Regions from separate parts of the Homo sapiens genome. Here all the other regions are linked to region 3. The links are contacts of gene promoters, found by promoter capture Hi-C in blood cells and fetal thymus (Javierre and others, 2016). All regions are on one chromosome and are shown on one strand. Each heading gives the region's core, a stretch centred on a gene start or on the middle of the fragment in contact. The rest is flanking DNA. Distances are from core to core; before and after follow the strand shown.

Region 1 (2,700 bases), core at 104-2,603, 280 kb before region 3:
CATAGTCAGAGCAGTGCCCGCCGCGGTATTGAAGGTGGGAGTGCCACCTGGAGGCCCCAGGGACACAGATGTGAGTAGCTGGGCAGAGGGCTGGTGGCTCTGCACAGAGCCCAGTGGGAAAAGTGACGGGGGTGCAGAGGGGCCGTGGGAAGCCCCCAGGCCGCGGTGCCCGGGAGCAGATGTGCAAAGTACATGATGTGGCTGAGCCACAGTCCTGCCTGCGGGAAGGCCTGGCAGGACCCGCCCACTCACCCGTGCTGAGAGGACAGCGTCCGCAGGTTGTTTTCTGGAGTGAGGGTCACCACCACCCCCACGACGTTCTTCATGTCCTTCTCCATGGCAAAGCCCTTTTCCCGGGAGGCCACCGCAAGCACGTACCAGGGCCCAAGAAGCTGCATTGAGGCGGCTCCCGTTAGGGCCGCCAGCCCTCCAGCCTCCAGCCTCCAGCCTCCAACCCTCCAGCCTCAGCCTCCAGCCTCCAAACCTCCAGCCTCAGCCTCCACCCTCCAACCATCCAGCCCTCCAGCCTCCAGCCTCCAACCCTCCAGCCTCCAGCCTTCCAGCCCTGCAGCCTCCAGCCTCCACCCTCCAACCATCCAGCCCTCCAGCCTCCAGTCTCCAACCCTCCCGCCCTCCAGCCTCCAACCTTCCAGCCTTGCAGCCTCTAGCCTTCAGTTCTCCAGCCCTCCAGCCTCCAGCTTCCAACCCCCCAGACCTCCAACCCTCCAGCCTCCAGCCTTCCAGCCCTACAGCCTCTAGGCTCCAGCCCTCCAGCCTTCCAACCTCCAGCCTGCAGCCCTGCAGCCTCTAGTCTCCAGCTCTCCAGCCCTCCAGCCTCCAGTTCTGCAGCCCTCCAGCCTCCAGCCCTCCAGCCTCCAGTTCTACAGCCCTCCAGCCTCCAGCCCAGCAGCCTCCAGCCTCCAGTTCTCCAGCCCTACAGCCTCCAGCCCTCCAGCCTCCAGTTCTCCAACCCTACACCCTCCAGCCCTGCAACCTCCAGTCTCCAGCCTCCAATTCTCCAGCCCTCCAGCCTCCAACCCTCCAGCATCCACCCCTCCTGCCCTGAGGCTCCTGCCTGTGGGACTCCCCAAGGGCTGGCCCAACTAATTCCCCACTGCTCATGCTGGTCTGGGCTAGCCCTGGGGGGCCCAGAAGCTGTGTGGCCTTAAAGGAGGGGCTGGCCCCCGAGGACCAGCTCTCCCCACCCCCAGGAGGACTGTACCTGCTCAGGGTCCAGTCTTCCCAACCACACGGCCTGGGCCCTGGGCACCGAGACCAAAGCCAGAAAAGCAGCCAGCAGCAGGCCGCCCATCCTCCCAGGTCTACACTGCGCCGCAGGCCCAGGATGTGCAGTCCCTCCAGGCCCTGGAGACCCGTTTATATGGCTCTGAATTTCTCCGTGTGGGTGGCACTAACTGCCAGGAACCCTCCTGGCCTCCTGCAAAATTACCCAGGGGAGCACTGAGCAGTGGCAGCCTCTGAGCCCAGATCAGACCAGCTGCACAGCCAGGAGAGGGTCTGGAGTGTGTGGATCAACCATACTATACTGATCCCCTGCTTTCTTCCACCAGAAGGTTCCAGAATGGGCATCCTAAAGCCAGCCGCACCACCTCCCCCGTTCCTGGGGACCCACGCTCTCCCTCGCCCAGCCTGGGAAGCAGGGAGACTGCTGTCCGCTGCCAGGCCCGGCAGGAGGCCAAGGTCAAGCCCAAGGAGAGGAACCAGGGCGAGAACAAGTGGTTCTCAGGAACTGCGGTTTTGGATATCTTTTGTTTCAATCATTAAATATAAAAAGTCCCTGAAAGCCTTTTGAAAAAGGCTCCCACCTCCTCCTGGCCCACCCACCATTCTGCTTTGTGGCCTGGCCTCTGTCCCCCACAGCCAGCACCCCCAGAACAGACTGTCCTGTTCCTTCCACCTCTGCAGCCCACCATCCGGCCCTGCTGCCTCCTGCCTCCCCTCCCTGGGACCCTGGCCTGCTTGTGCCTCCCAAGGCCCCTTGAGAGCTCTCTGCAGCCCCAGTCCGGGAGCAGAGGACAGAGGTGCTCGGCAGGGTCTATCTGAGCCCCTGAAGCCCACTGGGAGGCAGCCGGGAGGGTCCTCCCCCAGTGCCGTGGCCTGCACCCTCTGGGATTCACTCCCACACACCTTCGCTCATTCATCAACAAGGGTGCAAGGAGCACGTCCATGCAACAAGGCTCCAGTGCCCAGGGCCGCCTGCACTCACAGAGCTTATGCTGCAGCCCTGGCCACCTGCCCTGTACCCACGCAGCAGGGCCTGTGACCACCAGAGTGCAGGAGGAAGGCAGAAACCACACAGCTACTGGGGGCTGGGCCTGCGAAGACTGACCGGGCAGTGGGGCCACGGAGGTGCCAGCCACAGCCATGGCAAGCAGGAGTTGCCCAGGGGCTGAGCCACAGAACAAGGGAGCGGGACACTTAGGCCTGGAGCCTTCAGGAGGGAGCCGTGGCTGCTCGCGGTAATCCCAGCACTTCAGGAGGCTGAGGCGGGAGGATCACTTGAGTCCAGGAGTTTGAGACCAGCCTGGGCGACATAGCAAGACTTCGTCTCTACAAGCAAGTTTAAAAATTAGCTGGACATGGTGGCGTGCTCCTGTAGTCCCAGCTACTCAGGAAGCTGAGGTAGGAGGATTGCTTGAGCCCAGGAGGTTGAGGCTGCAGTGAGCTGTGATCGTGCCA
Region 2 (2,700 bases), core at 201-2,700, 410 kb after region 3:
AGACCAGGACAGTGCCCCCAGACCAGGAGAGCCCCCCAGACCAGGACACCCCCTCAGACAGAACAGTCCCCCAGACCAGGACAGCCCCCCAGACCAGGACAGCCCCCCCCAGACCAGGAGAGCCCCCCAGACCAGGACACCCCCTCAGACAGAACAGTCCCCCAGACCAGGACAGCCCCCCCAGACCAGGACAGCCCCCCAGACCAGGACAGCCCCCCCAGACCAGGACAGCCCCCCCAGACCAGGAGAGTCCCCCAGGCCAGGACATCCCCTCACACAGAACAGTCCCTGAGACCAGGACAGCCCCCCCAGACCAGGACACCCCCTCACACAGAACAGACTCCCAGATCAGGACAGCCCCCCAGACCAGGACAGCCCCCCAGACCAGGACAGCCCCCGCCAGACCAGGACAGCCCCCCCCAGACCAGGAGAGCCCCCCAGACCAGGACACCCCCTCACACAGAACAGATTCCCAGACCAGGACAGCCCCCAGACCAGGACAGCCCCCCCCAGACCAGGACAGCCCCCCAGACCAGGACAGCCCCCCCCCAGACCAGGAGAGCCCCCCAGGCCAGGACACCCCCTCAGACAGAACAGTCCCCCAGACCAGGACAGCCCCCCAGACCAGGACAGCCCCCCCCAGACCAGGAGAGCCCCCCAGACCAGGACACCCCCTCAGACAGAACAGTCCCCCAGACCAGGACAGCCCCCCCAGACCAGGACAGCCCCCCAGACCAGGACAGCCCCCCCAGACCAGGACAGCCCCCCAGACCAGGACAGCCCCCCCCAGACCAGGACAGCCCCCCCAGACCAGGACAGCCCCCCAGACCAGGACAGCCCCCCCAGACCAGGACACCCCCTCAGACAGAACAGTCCCCCAGACCAGGACAGCCCCCCCAGACCAGGACAGCCCCCCAGACCAGGACAGCCCCCCCAGACCAGGACAGCCCCCCAGACCAGGACAGCCCCCCCCAGACCAGGACAGCCCCCCAGACCAGGACAGCCCCCCAGACCAGGACAGCCCCCCCAGACCAGGACACCCCCTCAGACAGAACAGTCCCCCAGACCAGGACAGCCCCCCCAGACCAGGACAGCCCCCCAGACCAGGACAGCCCCCCCAGACCAGGACAGCCCCCCAGACCAGGACAGCCCCCCAGACCAGGACAGCCCCCCAGACCAGGACAGCCCCCCCAGACCAGGACACCCCCTCAGACAGAACAGTCCCCCAGACCAGGACAGCCCCCCCAGACCAGGACAGCCCCCCAGACCAGGACAGCCCCCCCAGACCAGGACAGCCCCCCAGACCAGGACAGCCCCCCAGACCAGGACAGCCCCCCAGACCAGGACAGCCCCCCCAGGACATCCCTTTGGACCCTCACCTGGGCTGGCTGCCCACTTCCCGGAGCGGCAAGGAGGAAGCTGTGCTTAGACGCTTCTGTGTCCGCGCACCTGGCGTCCAGCCTCTCCCTGCCCCTGGGTCCAGGACAGCTGGGGTGGGCGGGGCAGGGCGGTGACAGCCTCGGGCGATGCGCTGTGCACCTGGCTCCAGGGCCCGCAGGCTGAGGCCAGCGCCCAAGGTCGCCCCGCCCACTCCACCCTCGGGTCCCCCGCCCAGGGTCTCCCCGCATCTCCCACCCGCGGGTCTGTCTCGGTGCCCAGGGTCGCCCCGCCCCCGGGGGGGTGGGAGGCAGGAGAGGGAAGCTGAGGAGGAGCCTGGAGCTGCGAGGGGCAGAACTCCGGGACCCCGCCCCCCACGGCCCGCAGCCGCGCTCCTGACCCCGGCCCGGACTTTACCCCCCGTGCCGCCCGGCCCGGGCAGGTCGGAGTCAGGTGACCCCGAAGGTCCAGGCCCGGGGCGGGGGCGGAAGCGCCTGCAGCCCCGCGGCGCCCGTCGTTTTCCATTTGCAGCCACTCTGCCTTTCCCGCTCGCCGTGGGTCCCGGGGCCGCCGCCGTCGGGGTCCGGGCCTCTGAAGCGGGGCGGGGCTGGGGGAGGCGCGGAGCCAGGGCCGGGCTGGGTGGGGCTGGGGGTGTTGGGGGGCGGGGAATAGGGTGGGGGAATGCGGGGGGGCGGTGAATTCCTTTCTGTGTGAGATCCAAGAACCCTCTTGGGGTCTCAATCGGGACTCTCTTTACTGGTAGCATATTTGGTGTCATGTGTGTGCATTTTTGTGCTTTTTCTTGGTGATTTCACTGTTTATAATGGCGTCTCAGCATAGTGCAGAAATGCAAGAAGGCTGAGATGCACTTTACAGAGAAAACACACATTGGATAAGCTTCATTCGTGCAAGAGTTAGCGCTGTTGGCCATGAGTTCAATGTTAGTGATACAATACATATTAAGTAAGGTGCCCTTAAACAAAAATACACATAAAAGAAGGTTTTATTAATATATTGATCATTTAACAAAAATGTGACCAGAAGCTTGCAGGAACAGAACTTTGCATTTCCCTTAGGAGCAATAGTTTAGCATATTCTTTAATTCAGTGTTTGCAGCAACTTTATACACTAGCTGCCATGGGTCATAAGAGTCAAATGTGTTTGTTGAGGATTTTTGCAGTTGTGTTCAACAAAGTTGCATAGTTTTCTTTTTTAGTCCTGGTTTCTGTATGGGGATAATGCTGGGCTTATAAAATGAGTCTGGGAAGTTGTCCTTTTTTTTTTTTTTTTTTGAGATGGAGTCTCGCTCTGTCACCCAGGCTA
Region 3 (2,700 bases), core at 27-2,526:
CCAGGGGAATTCTGCCAGCCATGGTGATGATGGCCACCCCAGCTGACTGCAGCCTGGGTTTCCTGCAGTGCATGTTGAAAGATAAACAGGCACGGACTGGTGCAGCCCAAGGGGTCCCGCCCGGGCCCTGGCTGGGCAAGAGGATGTCTGCCTTAGGCCCCCACCTGCTCTGAGCCCTGGCCTGGACAATCCCAAGGGCCTTCAGAAACCTAAGCTGGTCCAGGCCTGTGGCCTGGGAGGTGTCCCTTCCCTTCCCAGGCTGGAGCCAAGCTGGCCAGCTGGGGGTATGGCAGGACACCCATATCCCCAAGCCCCTCGCTCCACGAAGGACTTCTGTCCCTGACAGCCATGTGTCCTGCACCCTCAGGTCCACTGGCTGCCCAGGCAGTGCTGGGAAAGCCGGGGTTCACAGCTCCAAACAGTAGACCCAGCCCCCAGAGCAGGTGGGGGGACCAGGAGGCAACAGAGTGGATCAGGCTCGGGGAGAACTGACCCCAAAGGACAAATGGGTGCAGAGATTCAGGCTGGCCAAGGCTGGCACAAGGACATTCCCAGTGGCGAGAGCATGAGCAAGGGTCACGGATGTGCCAGGAGGGGAGGCGGAGAGATGCCTGGGACCAACCTCTATGGCAGGCCGCGGCCCAAGGGCAGGGGAGGGGTGGACGGAGGGAAGGGACAGGGTCTCCTCCGGGACCCCAGGGAGGCTGGGCCCAAGGACCATGGAGCCTCGCAGCTGAATGGAGCCCCCCAGGCCTGCCTTCTGTCCTGGGAACCAGGGCCTCCCTCGAGCCAGAGTCCTGAGCGCCGCTTGCCCCCCGCCCACAGCGGCCCCAGCGAGCGCGCTGCAGAGGGCGCGGGTGCCGTGACTCAGCCGAGCACCGCGATGTCAGCGGACGCGGGACCGGACTGGACACGACCGAGCCACCTCCCCGGAGGCCGCAGCGCCGGCAGGCGAGGGCAGGGCCCGGCGGGGAGGGGGCTCGGGCCCGCGCCGCCCCCAGCGCCCGCCGGGGTCTGCGCGCGCCCGGCCGTCCGCACGTGCGCGCGGGGAGCGCGCCTCTGGCCGCGGTGCGCGCGGCCTCGGGCTGAGGGCGGGCGCGTGGGGTGGGCTCACCGGGCTCCGGCGTTTGAGCGTCACGTTCTTCCAGAGCAGCAGCTGCAGCTGGTGCAGGAAGCCCATGGCGGGGCCACGCTCCGCCGCCTCAGCGCCGCGGCCCGCTCCTCTGCGCGCCCCGCCGGGCCCCGCAGCCCGCCGCGCCGCTGGGCATCGCCCGCGCGGGGGCGGGGCGCTCGGGCGTCCGGGACCCGATCCGCGCTGGCTCCGCCCCGGCGGCCGCGGCGACAGCGACTCTGCCCGCGCCCCGCCCGCCCCCGCTTAAAGGCGCCGCGCTCCGTCCGCGCCCGCCAGGAGGCGCCCGCCGCCCGCGCCGCGCCCGGGACCGACCCGGGCCCGAGACCCTGCGCGCGCCGCCGCCGGGAAGCCTCCGGGCCGCCCCTCGCCGGGCGTCACGCGACGCGCCCACATCGAATCCGAGACCCCGGCTTAGCCTTCGTAGGCCGGGGGACCCTCGGGCGCTGCGCTCTTCTCCCAGAGGCATCCGGCTGCGCCCACCGCGCTGGCGACTCTGCAGAGGCGCCCCAAGCCTTCACTGTCCCCGGGGCGCGCCGAGCGGACGCTGGCGAGGGGCCAGCTCACCCCCGTAAGGGTCTCCTGTGTGCTTTGTAAACCAGCACTTGGAGTCCAGGTGGTGCCCACCTGGAAGGGAGGCAGGGCGGCCAGGTGGGTCCGTCCCGCGATTCCGAGCAGCCAGCGGAAGGGGGGAAACTCGAGGCCCCAGGAACGCTCGCCGTGAGCGGAGCAGGCAGGGGACCGAGGCGGCCCCTGCTGCACGCGGCTCGTTTTTCTCCCCATATTCGGGCGAGTCTGGTCTCTGCACAGGGAGTTCGGGATCAGGCGGTTCTGCGGCTGTGGCTTGGCACCTGCTGGGGCGCCCCGGGAGGTGGGGCAGTTCCTCCGCGTGGCCTGTAGAGAGCGACAGAGGACAGGCTGACCCCATGGGTGGCTCTGACGGCGCTTCCCAGACTCAGTTTCCCCCCTGTGAATGGGGTGGAGTAGCGCTGTGTGGTGTCCAGTGTCAGGGCGCACATAGAAGGCGCATCCTCAAGTGAATGAAGACCTCCGAGGCCACAGCTCCCCACTCCTCCCAGCTCCTTTGCAGCAGGAAGGTGACCCTGGGCTAGTGAGTGAGGGATCAGCTTCCCACCCCAGCCCGCAGCCTCAAGGCACTTGCTTTTCTCTGCTCAGTCCACAGGGCTGGGTCAGGGCAGGAAGCTACCAGCAGGTCTTTCCCACAAGCCACAGCCATGGGTGAGGGGGGCTTCCTGCCCTCAACCTGCCCACCCCTACCTGGGGTAGGGACAAGCCCTGTGCCCCAGCCCCGGGGGCTTAGCCTGTTGGGGCCCTGGTCAGCACCACCCGTGGGTTGGCCTCTCTCCTCCTCGCCCCACTCTCCACCGTCCACTACAGGGGCTCCCTGGCTGCAGCCGCATCCCCAGTGCCTCCCCAGCACTGGCCACCAGAGGGAGCTACAAGGCACAGGTCAGACCCTGTCACCCCAGACACCCTCCAGCCTGCGGGCCTGGGAGATGGGCGATTTCAGCCTGGCCAGGCCTCTGACGTCCGTTCCCTACTCTTCCCCA
Region 4 (2,700 bases), core at 161-2,660, 480 kb before region 3:
ACAAAGCGCCGGCCTCCGCCTCAGAATCAGAGCGGCCCATTGTGGAGTCGGGGCCGCCTCCAGGGGCACCGGGACAGCACCCTGGGGACGCGGCCCCGCCTCCGCCGACACCCAATACCTGCCTCCGCGGGCGCGCATCTCCAGGGCAGCCCCCATACACCCACAGGAGGGGGATGAAGGTCCCCCATTCGGAAGGAATTCGACCCCATCTCGAGAAGGGATCAATTACTCAAGCCCCTCCCTCCCCATCTTACCGGGGCTGAGAAACGGGGGAGGGGGGTGTGACACAGAGCCGCACTTTCTGGAAGAGGACAGATAATTCTCGCCTCCAACTCTCGGAGAAAGAGTGGATTAATCACTCGATTCCCCAGAGACCCCGCTCGCTGTGCGGCGGGGAGAAATGTAAGAGCCCCCCACCCGCGTCCCGCTCTCCGCCCCCAAGCTTTCCAAACTTCAACTCCGCAAAGCAAAAGGAAAGTTCAGTCCCCCCGGGCGCGGCGGCTTCTTACGCAACCCCTCCCCCAAACTGAGAGCCGGGCTGGGGGGCACCGGCGGGCGGGGCGACCGGGAGCCCGGGGACCCAGCCCGGCCGCGCGGGTCAGTGAAGGCGAACGCGGCGCCGCAGAGCCCACACTCCGCGCCCCAACATCCGCCCCGGCGTGGGCCAGAGGCGAAGAAGAAAGAAGATAAATGGCCCGGAGAAGCAACAGGAAACCAAAACCGACTCTATTCAAATCGAAAAATAGTAGGCAGCCCGCCCGCCCGGCCGACCGGCGGCAAGCCCCACGCGCGGCGGGTGAAGGGCGGGCCCGGAGTAGGGCCTCCGGGGCCCCAGCACCCCACACCGGCCTCCTAACTCGGCTCCAGGCACGGGCGGCGCGAGTCCGCCTCCACGGGGGGATCGAGGGGGAAGGTCGGTCCTCCCTGATCCCGGGACTCCAGAACCCCACGCCCCGGGCCGCCCGCTTTTCCCTCTCCATGCTGGCCTCCCCGCCGCCCGCTCCCAGCCGTGGGGCGCGCGCGCCGGGCGCCGCCAAAGTTTCCAAAGGGCGCGGAAAGTGGGGGCTCGCGGGTGGGTGGGCGCCTACCTCGTGCGGCGAGCGCGGGCAGCAGCGCCAGGCAGAGCAGGGGCGCCAGGAGCGGCGGCATGCCTCCCCACCGGCTGCCCTCTGCGCCCGGGCGGCGGCCTCCTGCGCTGGCCGGCGGGGCTGGGACGCACACGCGCGGCGTACGGTCCCGGGGCGGCGGCGGACGGTCCCGCCCTCTCTTCCCCGGCTGGCTGGCGGCGCTGTGCTCTCGCAGGCCCCCGGGCCCGGCTCCGCGCCCGGCTCGTTCCTTCGCTGCGCTCGCGCCCGCGCCCGCGCCCCGCGCCCCGCGCCCTTGCGCTCCCTCCCGCGGCCGAGGCACTAGTGAGGCTCAGAGTCGAGGTGCGCTCCGCCCCCGCCGGCCCCGCCCCGCCCGGCCCCACCCCCGCCGGTCCCCCCGCCCCCTCCGCGGCCACCTCCTCCCGCACGCCCCGTCCGCCTTTGCGCCTCCCCGAGCTGAGCCGCGCGTCCCGAGCCCAGCCTCTCCGGGGAGGAGGGACCCGGCGGCGCGGCGTGGGTCGGGAGCGGGCGCCTGGGACTACTTCTCGTTTGAAAGTTTTCAGAGGCCAAAAGTTTGAGCCGGGGCTGCGGAAGGATCCGGCTCTGGCGGTTGCCGCGCTCGGCGACAACTGGCGACTGAAATTTGCATGTGAATAAGCGGAGGAGCCCGGGGCGGAATGGGGAGGGCGAGGCCGCGGACAGCCGTGTGCACCGTGCGCTGGGCCGGGCGGGGAGCAGCTGAGGCCACGTTGGGGGACCCCGGGCCCGGGGCAGGGCTCTGGGAGAGTGGCCTAGCCGTGTGTGCGCCCCTAGCCCAGCGGCTTCACTCCCTCCCGAGGGCCCCGTGGCCGCGGCTTTAGGCGTCCAGAGGATCGATCGCCGCCAGACATCCCTGGCCGTGATTGCCCGAGCACTTGACCGCGAGGGATGGGGGCGCCGCGGCCTCTGGGCAGGGGACTCCGGGCGCCCCGAGGGAGCAGCCGGGACCAGTGCCTCGCGGACGGATTGTGCCCCGCTCCCCCAAGGGGGACCCGCGTCGACACGCTCCTCGGTCACCGTCCTCCTCCTGCCCGGGCGCCGCCTGCCTAAGGTGGCCCCAGAAAGCACAAACGGGTCGGGCGGATCTGCCGCTGGCGCCGGCGCAGCCCTTCCCACGTGCTCCTTCCGGCTGATTTATTTCTCCACCACGATGCCAGGCACGGGCACCCTGTGCCAAGCCTGGTTAAGCGCCAGGAGTCCAAAATGCCTGCCATAGTCCCTGCGCAAAGTTCACGGCCTCGTGCCAGGGACAGACAGCGCCCCCTCCCCACCCCAACACAGGGTGGTGAGTGCGATGGCAGAAGGCGCGTGTCCCGGCGCCCCTCCTGGAGTAGGAGGGCTAAGCCTGCCCTGCGGGGAGACCGAAAGGCTGGGAGGGACCTAGGACTGTGGGGGCCTGGGGGGAGGGCTGCAGAAACCCCAGAGCATGGTGGCAGAGGCAGGCACAGAAAGCAGGACAAATCTCACACCTGACCCCAGCAAGCCTTTCCTGGCACACCTCTTGCCAAATGCTGAGCACTCTGGAAACAGCCAGTGCAGGCGGCCTGTCCCGCCCCTGTAGCTGCTGCTGGGAGCC
Region 5 (2,700 bases), core at 116-2,615, 320 kb before region 3:
AAAGGAAAAGAAAAGAAAGAAACTGTTAAGAGAATGAAAAGAAAGCCACAGACTGGGAGAAAAATCTTTGCAAATCACATGTGTAATAATGGGCAGATATCCAGAAGATATAAAGAAGTCTCGGACCAGGCATGGTGACTCACGCCTGTAATCCCAGCACTTTAGGAGGCTGAGGCAGGTGGATCACTTGAGGCCAGGAGTTTGAGACCACTCCGGCCTGGGCAACATAGCAAGACTCCCTCTCAAAAAAAAAAAAAAAAAAAAGTCTTGGCTGGGCACCAGGTGACTCATGCCTGTAATCCCAGCACTTTGGGAGGCCAAGGCAGGATGATCCCTTGAGCCCAGGAGTTCGAGACCAGCCTGGGCAAAACACTGAGACCCAGTCTCATTCTAGATATTAAAAATTAAAACCAAAATGTAAATAAGTCTCAAAACTTAATAATAAAGAAACAACGTGATTTTTATTAATGGTCAAAAACTTGAATAGACTTTGGAGAAGATACACAGGTGGTAACTGAACACGCAGAAAGTGTGTTAAACACGCGAACCACAGCCCCAGCGAGACGCCACCACCAGGGAAATGGCTAAAATGTAAAAACCTGCCGATAGCAAGAGCCGCCCGGGATGCGGAGCAGCTGGAAGCGCCGGCGGCCGCGGGGAGGGAGCGAGTCTTGGCAGCTGCTGGCTGCGCCCCACATCCCTCACCGTCCAACTCAGCCCCCCCAGGTGTTTACCGAAGTGCAATGAAAGCTTCTGTTCACACGGAACCTGCCTATGGAGGCGGCAACGGCTCATCCCCGAGCACCCCACGCGGAGGCGAAGGAAGTGTCCTCCCGGCGAGTGGCCAAGGCGCGGGGTCTCAGCCAGGAGGGAAGGGTCGGACCCCGGGGCGGGCTGCAGGCTCGGCCAGCCCAGGGCTCCGCGCGTCTGACCCCATCCTGAGGACCCAGGGGAAGGACCAGCCCTGGCTCTGCGGCCTCGAACCGGGGGCGCGCGTGGGGAGCCCTGAACCCCGCAGCCTGCGTAGCGCACGGGGCCTCTCTCCAGCGTGGGAAGAGCCCCCGAGACGCCCAGGAGCCCGACAGGCGCGCCCCCGGCCCCGGCTCCGCCTCCCGGCCCATCCCGCGCGCCCCCAGCCCCTCCCGCAGCACCGTTGCATGAGGGGCGGGGTCTGCGGGTGGGCGGGGCCTCGGTGCCCGCCCCCTCCTCAGCCGAGCCGGGGGTCGAAGGCGGGCCGCGCGCCAAGCCCCGCCCCCGCGCGCCTCCGCCGCGACCCTCCCCCGCGCGCCCCCGCCGCGCCGCCGTCGGCCGACAGAAAGGCGCGCGCCCTCGCCTTTAACGCGGGCCCGGGGGCGCGCGGCCCGCATGGCGAGGGAGCGGCGGCCGCTGCGGGCCGGGCCGGGCCGGGGCTGAGGCCGAGCGAGCCGCGGGGCCCGCGCAGCCCCGGCCGGAGCCCACCATGCGGCGGCTGCGGCGCCTGGCGCACCTGGTGCTCTTCTGCCCCTTCTCCAAGCGCCTGCAGGTAAGCGCGGTGCGCGCCCGCCGCCCCCGGCCGCCTCTGCCTGGGGAGGCCGAGCTCCAGCCCCGGAGTGGGCCGAGTACGGAGCGGGGCCCCGGGTTCGGACACGAAGGGTTCATGAGCCCGGGGTGGGCAGCGGGGAGGGGGCGAGTGGCTCCGGAAGGACGGGACGCTGGGGGAGGGGCGGTGGCGGCGACAGGAGGGTCCGGGCGCGGGGATGCTGCGGCCTGGAGGCCCTCGCCCCGACCTGCAGGCGGTCCCTGCCCCCCAGGCCCAGAAACCACACCGAAGTCCTTTCTTCTTTTCTCCACTTAAAAAATGAGGTGTGTTATTCTGCGGTAGAAAACTTGGGACGCACAGAAACGCCCTGGCAAGGACATGACCTCCCCGCCCCCTGCCCCTTCATCCCATCAGCCAGCCGTAGCGCGGGGACCCTGCCCTGACCCCGGGATGACCTTGAACCACCGTCCCCTCCAGGGGCCTGGCCGGGTCCGCAGGGGAGGCCCGGGCCGCCTTGGGTTCCAGCTGCCAGGAGCCCTTTCACCTTCTGCTTTGGGGAGATGCAGGCCAGGCCCATCAGGCTCCAATCATCCGGGGCCCGGCCTCGGATGGGATGCCCTCCCAGACCCTCCAGGACCCCAGCCATCTGCCGGAGGCGCCAGTCCTGGTCAGATTTGCCTGTATCTCCCCGGCCCCCGCAGGGTGGTCCTGGGTCAGCAGGAGGAACCCTGCCTGCGTCCTGCCTGAGCTCAGGGCCTGGCTGGCCTCAGCTCCCCTTCTGGGAAGAGCGTATGGAACCTGGCAACCCACAGATTGCAGCGAGACCCTCTGTGCCCACTTGGGGCTTCAGGTTGTGGTGGTCCCGGCTCAGCCTTGGGGCAGGGTGAGAGCTAAGGGGTCTGAGGACCACCCCAGTCGCTGGGAGGTGGGGTGCACAGTGGTCCCCTCCCCCGAGGAAAGGCCTCGACCAGCAGCTGCAGAAGAGATGCTGATGCTTGGAGCTCCGCCCAGGAATGGCAGCAGAGGGGTGTTGGCTGCTCCCAGGGTGGCTGGCTCGGGGCCAGAGCCCTGGTGGGAGCCCAGCCTGCCCCTCTAGTGGCGAGGGCCTCAGTTTCCTGGCCTTGTGAACTGCTTTTCTGGGTTAGTGCTGTGGGGCTCCTGGCCCACGGTCTGAGCCTGCT

Evidence for each region. Contacts are between HindIII fragments. The CHiCAGO score rates a contact against its expected background, and 5 or more counts as called.
Region 1: the fragment with the promoter of LCN6 here is called in contact with the fragment with the promoter of ABCA2 in region 3 in 12 of 17 cell types (endothelial precursors, erythroblasts, M0 macrophages and 9 more); the score reaches 10.3 in endothelial precursors.
Region 2: a contact is called between the fragment with the promoter of ENTPD8 here and the fragment with the promoter of ABCA2 in region 3, in 5 of 17 cell types (erythroblasts, M0 macrophages, naive B cells and 2 more). The highest score is 9.9, in erythroblasts.
Region 4: the fragment with the promoter of NOTCH1 here is called in contact with the fragment with the promoter of ABCA2 in region 3 in 5 of 17 cell types (total CD4 T cells, non-activated CD4 T cells, M0 macrophages and 2 more); the score reaches 5.9 in total CD4 T cells.
Region 5: the fragment with the promoter of DIPK1B here is called in contact with the fragment with the promoter of ABCA2 in region 3 in 1 of 17 cell types (fetal thymus); the score reaches 6.6 in fetal thymus.

The regions. Positions count from the first base shown.
Region 1 is chr9:136,747,172-136,749,871 of GRCh38, forward strand. It overlaps LCN6 (lipocalin 6), which reads right to left and starts at 1,354. Exons shown (of 7, transcript NM_198946.3): 1 at 1,223-1,354; 2 at 253-392. The coding sequence starts at 1,312. LOC100128593 (a long non-coding RNA gene) reads left to right here. Exons shown (of 3, transcript NR_033913.1): 2 at 1-1,401; 3 at 1,575-2,700. The HindIII fragment of the contact is 9,973 bases long and covers 1-2,700 here.
Region 2 is chr9:137,439,907-137,442,606 of GRCh38, forward strand. ENTPD8 (ectonucleoside triphosphate diphosphohydrolase 8) reads right to left here and starts at 1,451. Exons shown (of 10, transcript NM_001033113.2): 1 at 1,380-1,451. RefSeq lists a silencer at 1,311-1,605. The HindIII fragment of the contact is 13,084 bases long and covers 1-2,272 here.
Region 3 is chr9:137,026,961-137,029,660 of GRCh38, forward strand. ABCA2 (ATP binding cassette subfamily A member 2) reads right to left here and starts at 1,277. Exons shown (of 49, transcript NM_001606.5): 1 at 1,115-1,277. The coding sequence starts at 1,180. LINC02908 (long intergenic non-protein coding RNA 2908) reads left to right here and starts at 504. Exons shown (of 3, transcript NR_171031.1): 1 at 504-951. RefSeq lists a silencer at 1,355-1,534 and an enhancer at 1,418-2,162. The HindIII fragment of the contact is 3,387 bases long and covers 1-2,700 here.
Region 4 is chr9:136,544,638-136,547,337 of GRCh38, forward strand. It overlaps NOTCH1 (notch receptor 1), which reads right to left and starts at 1,411. Exons shown (of 34, transcript NM_017617.5): 1 at 1,089-1,411. The coding sequence starts at 1,149. MIR4674 (microRNA 4674) reads right to left here and starts at 1,622; the gene lies at 1,536-1,622. RefSeq lists enhancers at 246-295, 2,268-2,700 and silencers at 526-575, 796-1,055, 1,076-1,635, 1,976-2,075. The HindIII fragment of the contact is 3,030 bases long and covers 441-2,700 here.
Region 5 is chr9:136,711,207-136,713,906 of GRCh38, forward strand. It overlaps DIPK1B (divergent protein kinase domain 1B), which reads left to right and starts at 1,366. Exons shown (of 5, transcript NM_152421.4): 1 at 1,366-1,522. The coding sequence starts at 1,460. RefSeq lists an enhancer at 2,029-2,700. The HindIII fragment of the contact is 2,091 bases long and covers 749-2,700 here.